Regions from separate parts of the Homo sapiens genome. Here regions 1 and 2 are each linked to region 3. The links are contacts of gene promoters, found by promoter capture Hi-C in blood cells and fetal thymus (Javierre and others, 2016). All regions are on one chromosome and are shown on one strand. The core of a region is centred on a gene start or on the middle of the fragment in contact, and the rest is flanking DNA. Distances in the headings are between cores, read along the strand shown. Region 1 overlaps WDR25 (WD repeat domain 25). Region 2 overlaps WDR25 (WD repeat domain 25). Region 3 holds the start of DIO3OS (DIO3 opposite strand upstream RNA).

Evidence for each region. Contacts are between HindIII fragments. The CHiCAGO score rates a contact against its expected background, and 5 or more counts as called.
Region 1: a fragment that was not itself captured here is called in contact with the fragment with the promoter of DIO3OS in region 3 in 1 of 17 cell types (total B cells); the score reaches 6.5 in total B cells.
Region 2: a contact is called between a fragment that was not itself captured here and the fragment with the promoter of DIO3OS in region 3, in 1 of 17 cell types (endothelial precursors). The highest score is 5.9, in endothelial precursors.

The regions. Positions count from the first base shown.
Region 1 is chr14:100,461,072-100,464,631 of GRCh38, forward strand. All of the region lies in intron 2 of WDR25 (WD repeat domain 25), which reads left to right. Among named protein-coding and RNA genes, the nearest start is that of WDR25, 86 kb to the left of the region's middle. The HindIII fragment of the contact is 2,959 bases long and covers 192-3,150 here.
Region 2 is chr14:100,432,256-100,436,104 of GRCh38, forward strand. The region is part of intron 2 of WDR25 (WD repeat domain 25); the gene reads left to right. Among named protein-coding and RNA genes, the nearest start is that of WDR25, 58 kb to the left of the region's middle. The HindIII fragment of the contact is 3,804 bases long and covers 105-3,849 here.
Region 3 is chr14:101,558,754-101,562,217 of GRCh38, forward strand. It overlaps DIO3OS (DIO3 opposite strand upstream RNA), which reads right to left and starts at 1,669. Exons shown (of 2, transcript NR_152588.1): 1 at 1,499-1,669. It overlaps DIO3 (iodothyronine deiodinase 3), which reads left to right and starts at 2,742. Exons shown (of 1, transcript NM_001362.4): 1 at 2,742-3,464. The coding sequence starts at 2,744. MIR1247 (microRNA 1247) reads right to left here and starts at 1,669; the gene lies at 1,534-1,669. The HindIII fragment of the contact is 17,616 bases long and covers 1-3,464 here.

The sequences.
Region 1 (3,560 bases), core at 421-2,920, 1.1 Mb before region 3:
AGAAGGGTGATGTGTGCCTGCAGTCCCAGCTCCTCGGAAGGCTGAGGTGGGAGGATTGCTTGAGCCCAGGAGTTCAAAGTTTTACAGTGAACTGTGATCGCACCACTTCACTCCAGCCTGGGTAACAGAGCGAGACCCTGACTTGGAAAGAAAAGAAAAGAAAAGAAAATTCCACTCTGTCTATTTTAAAAAGCTTCTAGTACTAAAAAGTGAGTTTAGTAAGGTTGCAGAATCCAAGGTCAATATCCAAAATTAATTGTATTTCTACATACGAGAAATCAACAATCTGAAAATAAAAGTTAAAAATACCATTTATATTATCAAACTATGAAATAATTAGAGATAAATTTGACAAAAGACATTCAAGATCTTTTCATTTAAAAAACCACAAACTGTTCCTTAGGGAAATTAAAGAAGACCTAAATAAATGGAGAGAGACATCCTGTTCATGGATTGGGAGACTCAATATTATTAAGGTGTTTCCCCAGATATTTTAGAATCAGTGCAACTCCAGCTGTAGAACACAAACATCATGAAGGGCTTCTCAAAGATTTGGCAAATGGGCTGATCCCATCCGTTTGGTAAAGGGTTAGGCACTGGTTGCACAGGCTTGTGCTGAACTGTGTGAGTTTGAGAATGGTCTCTAAAATTATTTTCTGGGGCAACAGGGACTGTCAAGAGGTGGGATGAGGCCAGGAGCCAGGCCTGACTAGGAGGGTCTCCGAGATAAGAGTGAGTAGGATAGGGCCACGAGGGAGGCGAAGGCTTACCCAGAAGTTTGACAGCCAGGTGATGGGGTTATGGATGACTCTTATTTTCGTTGTATTTTTCTGTTTTTTTTTGTTTGTTTTGTTTGTTTTTTTTTTTGGGCAGAGCACACATATTTCCAATGAAATCAGAGAAACAACAATCCTATAGCTGTTTCCTTTGGGATTTTGTTTTTGCACTTCTGTATAGTTTGAATAATTTACAAGAAGACTGTATTTTTTGTAACCAAAAACGAAAGGCAGGCAGGCAGAAAGAACATGACCTGTGGCTAGATCAATACTTGTTCAATCTTTGGAGACTGTGAGGAACTCCTGGTGGGGCCATGTCTTGGTAACGAGGACACAGAAACTGTGGTAAATATGGCACCGACAAGTGACTGCACCATATTTTACTTGTCATATTCTTTTCAAATCTGTTACTTTTGTCGGACACAAAGAATGTCTCTAGTTAATACATGAAATCATCTTGGAACATTTGACAGAAGATTTAACTCCTTAATTCTATGAAGGCAGTTTGGGATCTCTAATTACTTAATTGAAAAAAGCACGCACTTCAGTCTGCTGCAATGTTGGGGAATTAATCTTTAAAACCTGACAGTGAACATTAAATTCAATTAAGGAGACCAATTGGCAAAGATTCTTCCCTCCTTCACCCTGGATAGCTTTGAGAGGTAGCTGACTGGTCTGCATTGATTCAGATGCTGTCGTTGTCTGTGCATCTACTAGGAGAGCCAAGTGTGCGTTTTTCACTTCAGGGGGAGCTTGTCAGACGATTTACAGATTGATGGATCTCCTTACATGTTTCCGTGGCTGATTTGGGAGTTCCCCTGGACAAGAATTCAAACATTCCAGTTTGCTGCTTTTGGCCTTGGACTTCATAGAGTTCAAGTTTTTTGTAATTTCTTCTTTCTTGCATGAGACCACTATGTTGCCCAAGCTGGTTCTTCCTCCTCCCTCCGTCCTCTCCTCCTCTCCATCCTCTCTTCCCCTCCCTTCTCTTCTCTTCTTCCCCCTTCCTCTCTGCACCCCCCTTCCTTTTTCCCTTCTCTTTCCCTCTCCCCGCTTCCTCTCCCCCGCTCCTTCCTTTTTCCCTTCTCCCCTTCTCTTCTCTCCCCCTTCCTCTCCCCCTTGCTCCTTCCTTTTTCCCTTCTCCCCTTCTCTTCTCTCCCCCTTCCTCTCCCCCTTGCTCCTTCCTTTTTCCCTTCTCTTCTTCTTTCACCCCTTCCTCTCCCCCTGCTCCTTCCTTCCTTTTTCCCTTCTCTTTTCCTCCCTTTCCGTTTCCCATCCTGTGTTTCTTTTTTCTCTCCTCTCCCCAATTCCTCCATCACTCCTTCTCTCCCTTCCTTTTTTCTTCTGCTCCTCCTCCTCTCCGTCTTGGTTAATTTAACTTTTTATTTTAAATATGAAATGTTTTAAACATACTCAAAATTATAGAAGGTAACAGATACCTATACACCTGTCACTGAGATTGTCAAATCCCCAGGTGTGTCTGTTCTCATTCTCAGCGGACCCACCCATCAGCATTTGACATGGTGACCAGCCTCTTTGTCAAAACACTCTCTTCTCTACGCTTCCAGGACTTTCCTCTTCTGTTTTTTTCCCACACTTCACTGGCCTCTTCTTAGACTCCTTTCTGGTTTCTCTCTCTCCTCCCCTGGTTCCCAGCCTGTGAAACTTGGAGGCCTGGGGCTGAGATGTGGGACTCCTCTCTGTCCTGTCTGCACTTGCTCCCTAGGAGAGCTCATCCAGCTCAAGGCTGCGGCACAATTTCCACAATGGCATCCACAGCTCAGCCTCTACCCTGGGCCTCTCTTTTGAACATCACACTGGTACGGGAATGAGTCTTTATACTGTCTGCTGTCTGTCATTCAAAACTGAGCTCCAGGTCCTCCTTCCCTCAAACTTACCCCTTCTGCAGGCTGACCCATCCCTGCAACTCCACCCCTTTCAGTGCTTGGGCCAGGAACTGCGAATGTGTCCTGGGCTTTTCCCTTGCCCTCATATCCTACCTCCAGTCCAGGGAAGTCCTGTTGGTTCTACCCTCCAAGGCAGGCCACTTCTCTACTGCCTCCCACTGTTCCAAGCCATTTCCTCTCTCCCTGGATTCTTGCAGAAGCCTCCTGATTGTCTTCCTTCATCTCTCTTGCCCTTCATTCTCCTCCCTGCATGGCAGCTGGAGTGGTCCTACTGCAGTGGAACCAGCCCTCATTCCCCTCCGTTCCACCTGCAGAACCCTGGGATGCCCCAACGGCTTGTGGTTTTCCGACTTCATCCCTTTCTTACCACCTCCCTGCCAACCCCCAGCCTTGCTCACTTCTCTAGCTGCAGTGGCCCTTCTTGCTGTTGCTTGACCATGCCAGGCATACTCCTGTCACTGCCTGGAAGCTTCTTCCCTCAATTTCTACATAGCTGGCTTTCTCACCCCTTCAGGACTTCCTCCAAAGTCACCTCCTCAGAGAGGTCCTCCCTGGCCACCATTTCAGCCCCTTCCCTTGACCTTATAGAGCCCTTTCCTGGTTACTTTTTAATACTTCAGTCTTCACCACTGCCTTAAGGACTGTGGATTTTTATTTGTTCAGTGTCTGTCTCCCTCACTAGAATATAAACTCTTTGAAGGCAGAGATTTTTGTCTTATTTGTTTCCTGTTACACAATGCCTGGCTAATAGCAGGTCCTCAGGAAATCTTTGTTGAATGAATGAATAAATGAATGAGTTTCAGAGGAAACATTTGGGCATGTTTTCTTCGGAGAGCATTTTCCATCTCTCCCTCTCCTCATCTCCCACACCCCATCG
Region 2 (3,849 bases), core at 757-3,256, 1.1 Mb before region 3:
AAGGAAGATATCTTGCAGAAACACTCACTATAAAAATATAATAAGTCAATGGGTATTATCCCACTTGTAAGAGAGTCAACTCCTTTCATTCGTTATTTTTAGAAAGCTTACTGTCACGATGCCTGAATCTTCCAAAAATGTAGCATGCTGAAAGAGACCTTGCAAATAACTCCATCAAGTTCACTAGCCTACAAAAAATCCATCTTCTCACCTTTCTTCCCCTTTTAAAAAATGTTGATGTAATTTCAGGCTTACGGAAGAGTTGCAAGAACAGTATCAAGAATCCCCAGACACCCTTCACCCAGTTTCTCCAAATGTTAACATCATTTTATAACCCATTCCACATATATAAGCATGCATATATACATATTTTTTGGTACCATGTAAGAGTAAGACTGATAGTCCTTTACTCCCAAATATTTCAGTGTGTGTTTCCTAAAACAAGAAATTCTCTTATATAGTCACAGTGTAATCATCAACATCAGGAAAATAACATTGAAGCACTAGTCATGTGTTGCTTAACAATGGAGATATGTTCTGAGAAATGCGTTGTTAGACAGTGTTGTGGTGGGAACACCATATAGTGTACCTACATGAACCTAGATGGTACAGCCTACTACACACCCAGGCTATATGGTATAACCCATTGCTCCTAGGCTACACAGCTGTACAGCATGTGGCTGTGCTGAATACTGTAGGCAATTGGAACACAATGGGGCATTTGTGTATCTACACATATCTGAACTTAGAAGAGGTACAGTAAAAATACAGTCTAATCTTATGGGACCACTGCCGTGCATGTGGATCGTCATTGACTGAAATGTTGTTATGCAGCACATGACTGTATTATCTACTGTACATACCTTATTGATATTTTGTCAACTGTCCCAAAAATATCCTTTATAGCAAAAGAGAATTCATGGTCATGTGTTCCCTTCATCATTCTATCTCTTTAGTCTCCGTTAGTTTGAAACAGTTCCTCAGTTTCACAACACTCACATTTAGAGTACAAGCCAGTTATTTTATAGACCTTCAATGTAGGTCTGTCTAGTCTTTCCTTGTGATTAGGTTCAGGTGATGCCCTTTGGCAGGAGTGTTCCGGGTGATGCTGTGTTTCTCAGTGCTTCCTACCAGGAGGCACATGTTGGTTAGTCCTGTTGCTGGCAGTGTTAACTTTGATCACTTGGCTAAGATGCCAGGTTTCTTCAGTGTAGTTAATATTTTGCCTTTTGCAATTAAAAAATATAATATGGAGAGGCACTTTGAGACAACATAAGTATCCTGTTATTCCTCAACCTCTCATCAACTCGTTTTAGCATCCATCCATGATTCTTACCTGAGTCAGTCCCTATGATCACGCTTGTCACGTGGGGATTTCTCATCCTAACTAGAAAGAAGAGTTTTCATTCCCCCCCCATTAGTCTGTTTATTTTGTATCCATGTGGACTCATGGACTCCTAGTTTCTTAGTTTAACAGTAAGTTATAATAATACATTTTTATCATTTGATAAGAGAAATCTCTTCACGCTAGCTGCTGTCTCCATATTCTTTGAACATGACTTGACTTTTTGGCACAGCAAGATATTCTGGGCTCACTTATTCTTTTCCTGCCCCAGTCCTAGAATCAGCCATCTCCAAGGAGCTCTGGTTCCTTTTAGTGGAGAAAGGCATTTAGAAACCAAGATTTTGGCCAGGCATAGTGGCTCATGCCTGTAATCCCAGTGTTTTGGGAGGCTGAGGCAGGGGGGTCACGTGAGGCCGGGAGTTTGAGACCAGCCTGGGCAACATAGTGAAAAGCCGTTTCTACAAAAAAAAAAGAAAAGAAAAAAAAACCAGAGAGAGAAACCAAGATTTGGGATTTGGGTATTAGATGTGCTCATTGCTTCATTGCTACTGGGGGTCACTGCTTCTCAGAAGACAGATCTTGGCGATAGATGTCTGCCTATACATGCACACATGCCTCTATTCAGTTATTTCCAGGAGAACCTGTGAGTTTACACTGATGTCTCTAATCCTGATCTAGTGCTGTGGGGTTCATTCTGCCCTTTTCCATTTCCATATTTGTCACTCCCCCCTCCAACAGTGAAACCTGGCTTCCTGGTTTTCACAATGTATTTATGTATTTGCTCAATTCTAGAATGTCAGAAAGTAGTTTCAAAATTGCTAACTTCTGCAAAAAGAGGTCTAGTGATCAGAATTCAGTATTAGAGCTCTTTTCGACTTCAGACTGAGAGCATATAGTCCACATTTCAGGTGTTTCTTGGGTTTGTTCCCTGCTGCCCCCTTTCAGTGTGGTTATGTTATTCATTTGAAATACAATTTGGTTCCTTTGTTTCTCTTTGTATTCTATTTGAGAGATTTCCCCAATCTTAGGGATTTTCTCTTCCCTCCCTTTTGTGTGAACCACGGACATTTCCAAAAGGCAGGTCTGTACAAAAAGTTCTATTCAGAGAGGTGCTCCCCCTCCTTTCCACTCCAATCCCTTTTTCCTCTCTACCCAGCTCCCACCCTGCCCTGTAGGGAACCAGTCTCATTAGTCTGTGTTTTTTCCTTCTATGTTTCTTTTTGCTTTAATGAGTAGTTTCTTATTCCGCTCTTTTTCTTCATAAAAAGTAGAATATTCTGAATCCTCTTTCACAGTTTGCCGTTTCTCATTTAACTGTGCGCCTGAGCAGGCTACATTAGTCCTGAGGGGTCCCTGATCCTTCCTTCTGCTCCTGAGGGGTCTGTTGTGGTCTCCATTTTGGCTGTTATGTAGGTGCATGAGAACTGTGCAGTGTGCGTCTAGGTGCTAATGACAGCACAGCCCCCACCAGGCGTTGTGTCTTTTCCACCTGACTCTGGAAGAGTGGTAATGTGGGCAGAGGAGGAAACTGAGGCTCAAAGTAGTCCCATGACCACACGTCACACAGATGTGAGCTGGTCCTAGAGGTTGAGGCCAGACTGTCTGGTGCCAGAACTGAAACTTGTGAATGACGGGTGTACTTGCTCCTCCTGCTGGGGTTCATTGCATGCCTGAGATGCCAAGAGCAGGGCTCGCATCACCCTGGGTGCTAAGGAAAAAGGCCCCAGGGAGGGAAGGATAACCCAGGAGAAAGGAGGAGCTATTCCCCTTATAATTGCTTTCCTTATCATTCTTTTAAAATTTGTTGTGTGTACATGTTTTGTAATGAGTATAACACATCAATAGAATAGGGTTTATGTACTCAAAGTTGTGTGCTCAGAAAAATTTTTAAAAATGATAGTGATATGTGATCAAAAAAGTTTGGAGATCACGGAAAGAGAAGCTCACTCAGCTGTCTTGAAGTGGAGAGAGCCCTGGCCTGGCCTTAACATCCAGAGATGAGGGCTTGTGATCCCACCTGCTCCTGCTATGGGGGCAACAAGACATTCATTCACTCAATCATTCGTTCATTCATTCATTCATTCATTCAGTATGGCTGAGCGGTGAGGTTAACACAGTGAGCAGGAAGGTGCTGTCCTGACTTCAGAGAGCATCTGCAAGTCCAGATGGGGATCTTCATGGCTGGAAGGACAGTGAGGCCTGTCAGGGAAGGACACAGTGCTGTGGATCACCTAGGAGGGGCTTGTAAGTGAGGTTTGGGGGTTAGATGTGACTTCCAGGGAGAAGAGTGACGCCTAAGTGTGTATGAGAGTCCTCTGGTGTGAGGCTTGGAGAGGAGGGAGTGTAGCTGCTGGCCAGCACCGTGGAAGAGTTGACTCTGAGCAAATCATTAATCTTTTTGGGCCTTAATTGTCTTCTCTGTAATGGGGAAGGATAGTACCACTGGCCTCTCCAGCAAGTTCTTTGCATCTGCTGAGGCCAGATTCAGGTGTCAAATTCTCAGC
Region 3 (3,464 bases), core at 419-2,918:
CAGCCCTAAAGAAAGGCTGCTTTCCTGAGCATCCCTGGGGCTAGAAAGAGTGTGGATCAGGTGCTTCCTATTGGGCTGGGCCTGCAGAGGGGACAAGAGGGGCCAGTCTTACAGCCACCCAGACCATACTTTCCACACACATGCACATGCGCACACACACTTGCACACACACACACACACTTGCACACATATGCATGCACATGCCACCAGATCTCAGCCAGCACAGAAAGGCTCTCCCAGCCTTAGGTGGCTTATGCATTTTCTGAAACTAACTGTGGGAAAAGGGCTTGGGGAACCATCCCATGTGCCTGCACCAAATGCTGTGTGGGTGGGGCAGGACACAAGCCCTACACTGACACCTCCCAGAAATCAGGGAATCAGAGCTTGAGAGATTGTCCAGTAAAAGTTGGAACCCTCAACACCCCTTGACTCTGCCCAGGAGGAGCAACCTCAGAAGCCCCCCCAAACCTCCTCTCAGAGACCTGCCGAGTAGGAGGCTTCTCTCTCTACTCTCCTCCCCGCAAAAAAGAGGCCAGAAAAGAGGATGATTGGCTAACTCAGAGGTGCCCTGATGGAGGGGAGCAAACAAGGGGACTTCCAAGGAGAATTCCCTAGCCCACCTGAAAGACCCCTACCCAGAGTGGTGAGGGGCAGCTTAGGAGCACTGACGCAAGGGGGAGAGACCAGGCTGGCTTCCCTCTACGTAGTAAGTTCCTGGGGTGTGCGCCCCTGCCCCAGACAGCAGAGAAATCGCCTGACTGGGAGATGGAGAAGAGGGGCCACCTTCTCATGCCACCCCGCCGCCAATCCTCCAGGCACACTCGGGCGCTTGACCTGCTGAAGCCTGTAGCCTCAGGTCCAGTGAGGAGCTCACGGGACAGAGGGCCCTACCAGAGCCACGAAAACCGGAGGGGGGGACCTCCGCCCAAGGCAGGCGTCTCTGCGCGCCCGCTGGGGCCCTGGTCCTGCAGTTGGCTTCTCCCGACACGTTCCTTCGCTGCCGAAAGCGATTCGCCCGCGCTCTACCGAGCCCAGCCAGCTCCTACCTCGGCCCGGGCGGCGAGCGCTGTCTCCGTCCCGAGAAGAAGTTTCGCGGCTGGTCCCGGGGCGGCAGGCGCACGGGACGCTGGCGGCGGCGGCGGCTTCCGACTTGGGCTCAGACCCCGCCGCTCCAGACAAGTCCCCGCGACTGCGACAGTGTCTCGGGCAGTTCAGCTCCCCAGACGGGAGACAGACCCTCGCGACCTGGTTCAGGCCTTGCCCTGGGGGACACTGCAGTCCAAGGCGAAAGGAGACTTGCTCCCGGCCTCTGGGTCCCTAGGTCAAGGCACCTCCCCGCCCCGCCGCCCCTGAGCCCAAGTCGCCAACCCCGCGCCGCGCGCAGCGAGGGATCAGAAGGTCTCGGACGCCGCGGCAGGGCCGGCCAGGGCCCCACGAGTTAGGGAGTTGCCCCGCACCCCTAAACGCTCAGCACCCATTTACGGTTGAAAGTACGCACTTGACGCGTCCGGGCGCCTCCGCGGTGAGTCGCGCCGCCGCTCTCGGGGTCCGCGAAGGTGGCTCAGTTCGGGCGCTCCAGTCTCGACGTTCCCGGGGTAGAGAGCAACGTCCGGGGACGAACGGGACGGGTGCGCCCAGCGGCCGGGGCTGCGCTGGGCGAGGCAAGCGGCGAGAGGGGAGCGCTCCGGCGTTCAGGCAACAGCTACCCCTAGTGGGAGAGCCGCCCGGGGCCGGCGCCGCCCCGCGCCCGCTGCCCCGCGCCCCACGCCCGTGGCGCCCCGCGCCCGGGTCGGCTGGGGGCGCAGGGCCGGCGCCGCTTTCCCCAGCTCTCCGGTCTCCGGCGCCCGGCGGTAACCCGCCCGCGGGCTCTGCCCTCCGCACCTCTCAGCCCGGCCCCGGCGGCCGCTGACCCAGGAACCGCGGCGCCCCGCTGGAACGAGATGGGACGGGGCGGGCGCGGCCAGGGCGGCGCGGGCTGGGGCGGCGCGCGGCAGCCTCGGGCAGCGGCGGGGGGCGCGGAGCGCGGTGTGCGTGGCGGGGCGGTGCGGGGGGCGGCCGTGTGCGAGGCGCGAGTGTGAGCGCGCGCGGGAGGCGGGCGGGCGGGCTCCGGCAGGCGAGCGGCGCCCGCGGGCGAGCCAGGAAGGCGGCGGGAACGCAAAGTTGCCTCCTCGCTGGCCCGCGTCCTCGGTGGGGCGGGAGCCGGGGCCACCGAAGCGGCGGCCGCGGACCCGGCCTCCCGCGGCACCTGGGCAGCGGCCCCGCACGAGCGGCAGCGGCGTGGGCGGCGTTGGCGGCGGCGCGCGGGAAGCGAACCGGAGCTCCGGCGCGGCTCGGCGGCCGCCGGGGAGCTCGGCTCAGGTGCGCGGCGAGGGGGGCGCGGGCCGGAGCCAGGCGGCGGGGACCAGGGCGGCGCGCAGCGCTCGCGCCAGCTGGAGGACCTCCCCAGCGGACGCCCAGGTCCCTGGTCGGGCTCCCGGTCCCCAGCGGCAGCGGCTGCCGGAGTCCCCCGCCCCCGAGAGCTGGCTGCGGGGCCCGGGCCCGCCCCCACCGGCCCCAGGCCCGGCCGCTCCGCCCTCCGCCCGCCTGCGCCCGCCCTCAGCCCAAGATTTCTAGGGCATTGGCCGCGCTGCTGGGTGATCCCTCCGGGCTCAAGTTGCAAGGGGGCGGGCCGGGCCGGAGGTGGAGTCTCCCGCCAATTGAAGCCTCCGCTATAAATTGAACTCCCTGCACTGCTGAAGCCCAGATGCCTCGCCAGGCCACGTCGCGGTTGGTGGTCGGAGAGGGCGAGGGGTCCCAGGGGGCTTCGGGGCCTGCAGCCACCATGCTCCGCTCCCTGCTGCTTCACTCCTTGAGGCTCTGCGCCCAGACCGCCTCGTGCCTCGTGCTCTTCCCGCGCTTCCTCGGCACGGCCTTCATGCTCTGGCTTCTCGATTTCTTGTGTATCCGCAAGCATTTCCTGGGCCGCCGCCGCCGGGGGCAGCCCGAGCCCGAAGTGGAGCTCAACAGTGAAGGCGAGGAGGTGCCTCCCGATGACCCGCCCATCTGCGTGTCCGACGACAACCGCCTGTGCACCCTGGCGTCGCTCAAGGCGGTGTGGCATGGCCAGAAGTTGGATTTCTTCAAGCAGGCGCACGAGGGCGGTCCGGCGCCCAACTCCGAGGTGGTTCTGCCCGACGGCTTCCAGAGCCAGCACATCCTCGACTACGCGCAAGGGAACCGCCCGCTGGTTCTCAATTTCGGCAGCTGCACCTGACCACCGTTCATGGCGCGCATGAGCGCCTTCCAGCGCCTGGTCACTAAGTACCAGCGCGACGTCGACTTCCTCATCATCTACATCGAGGAAGCGCACCCCTCCGACGGCTGGGTCACCACGGACTCTCCCTACATCATCCCACAGCACCGGAGCCTGGAGGACCGGGTCAGCGCAGCGAGGGTACTGCAGCAAGGTGCACCCGGCTGCGCTC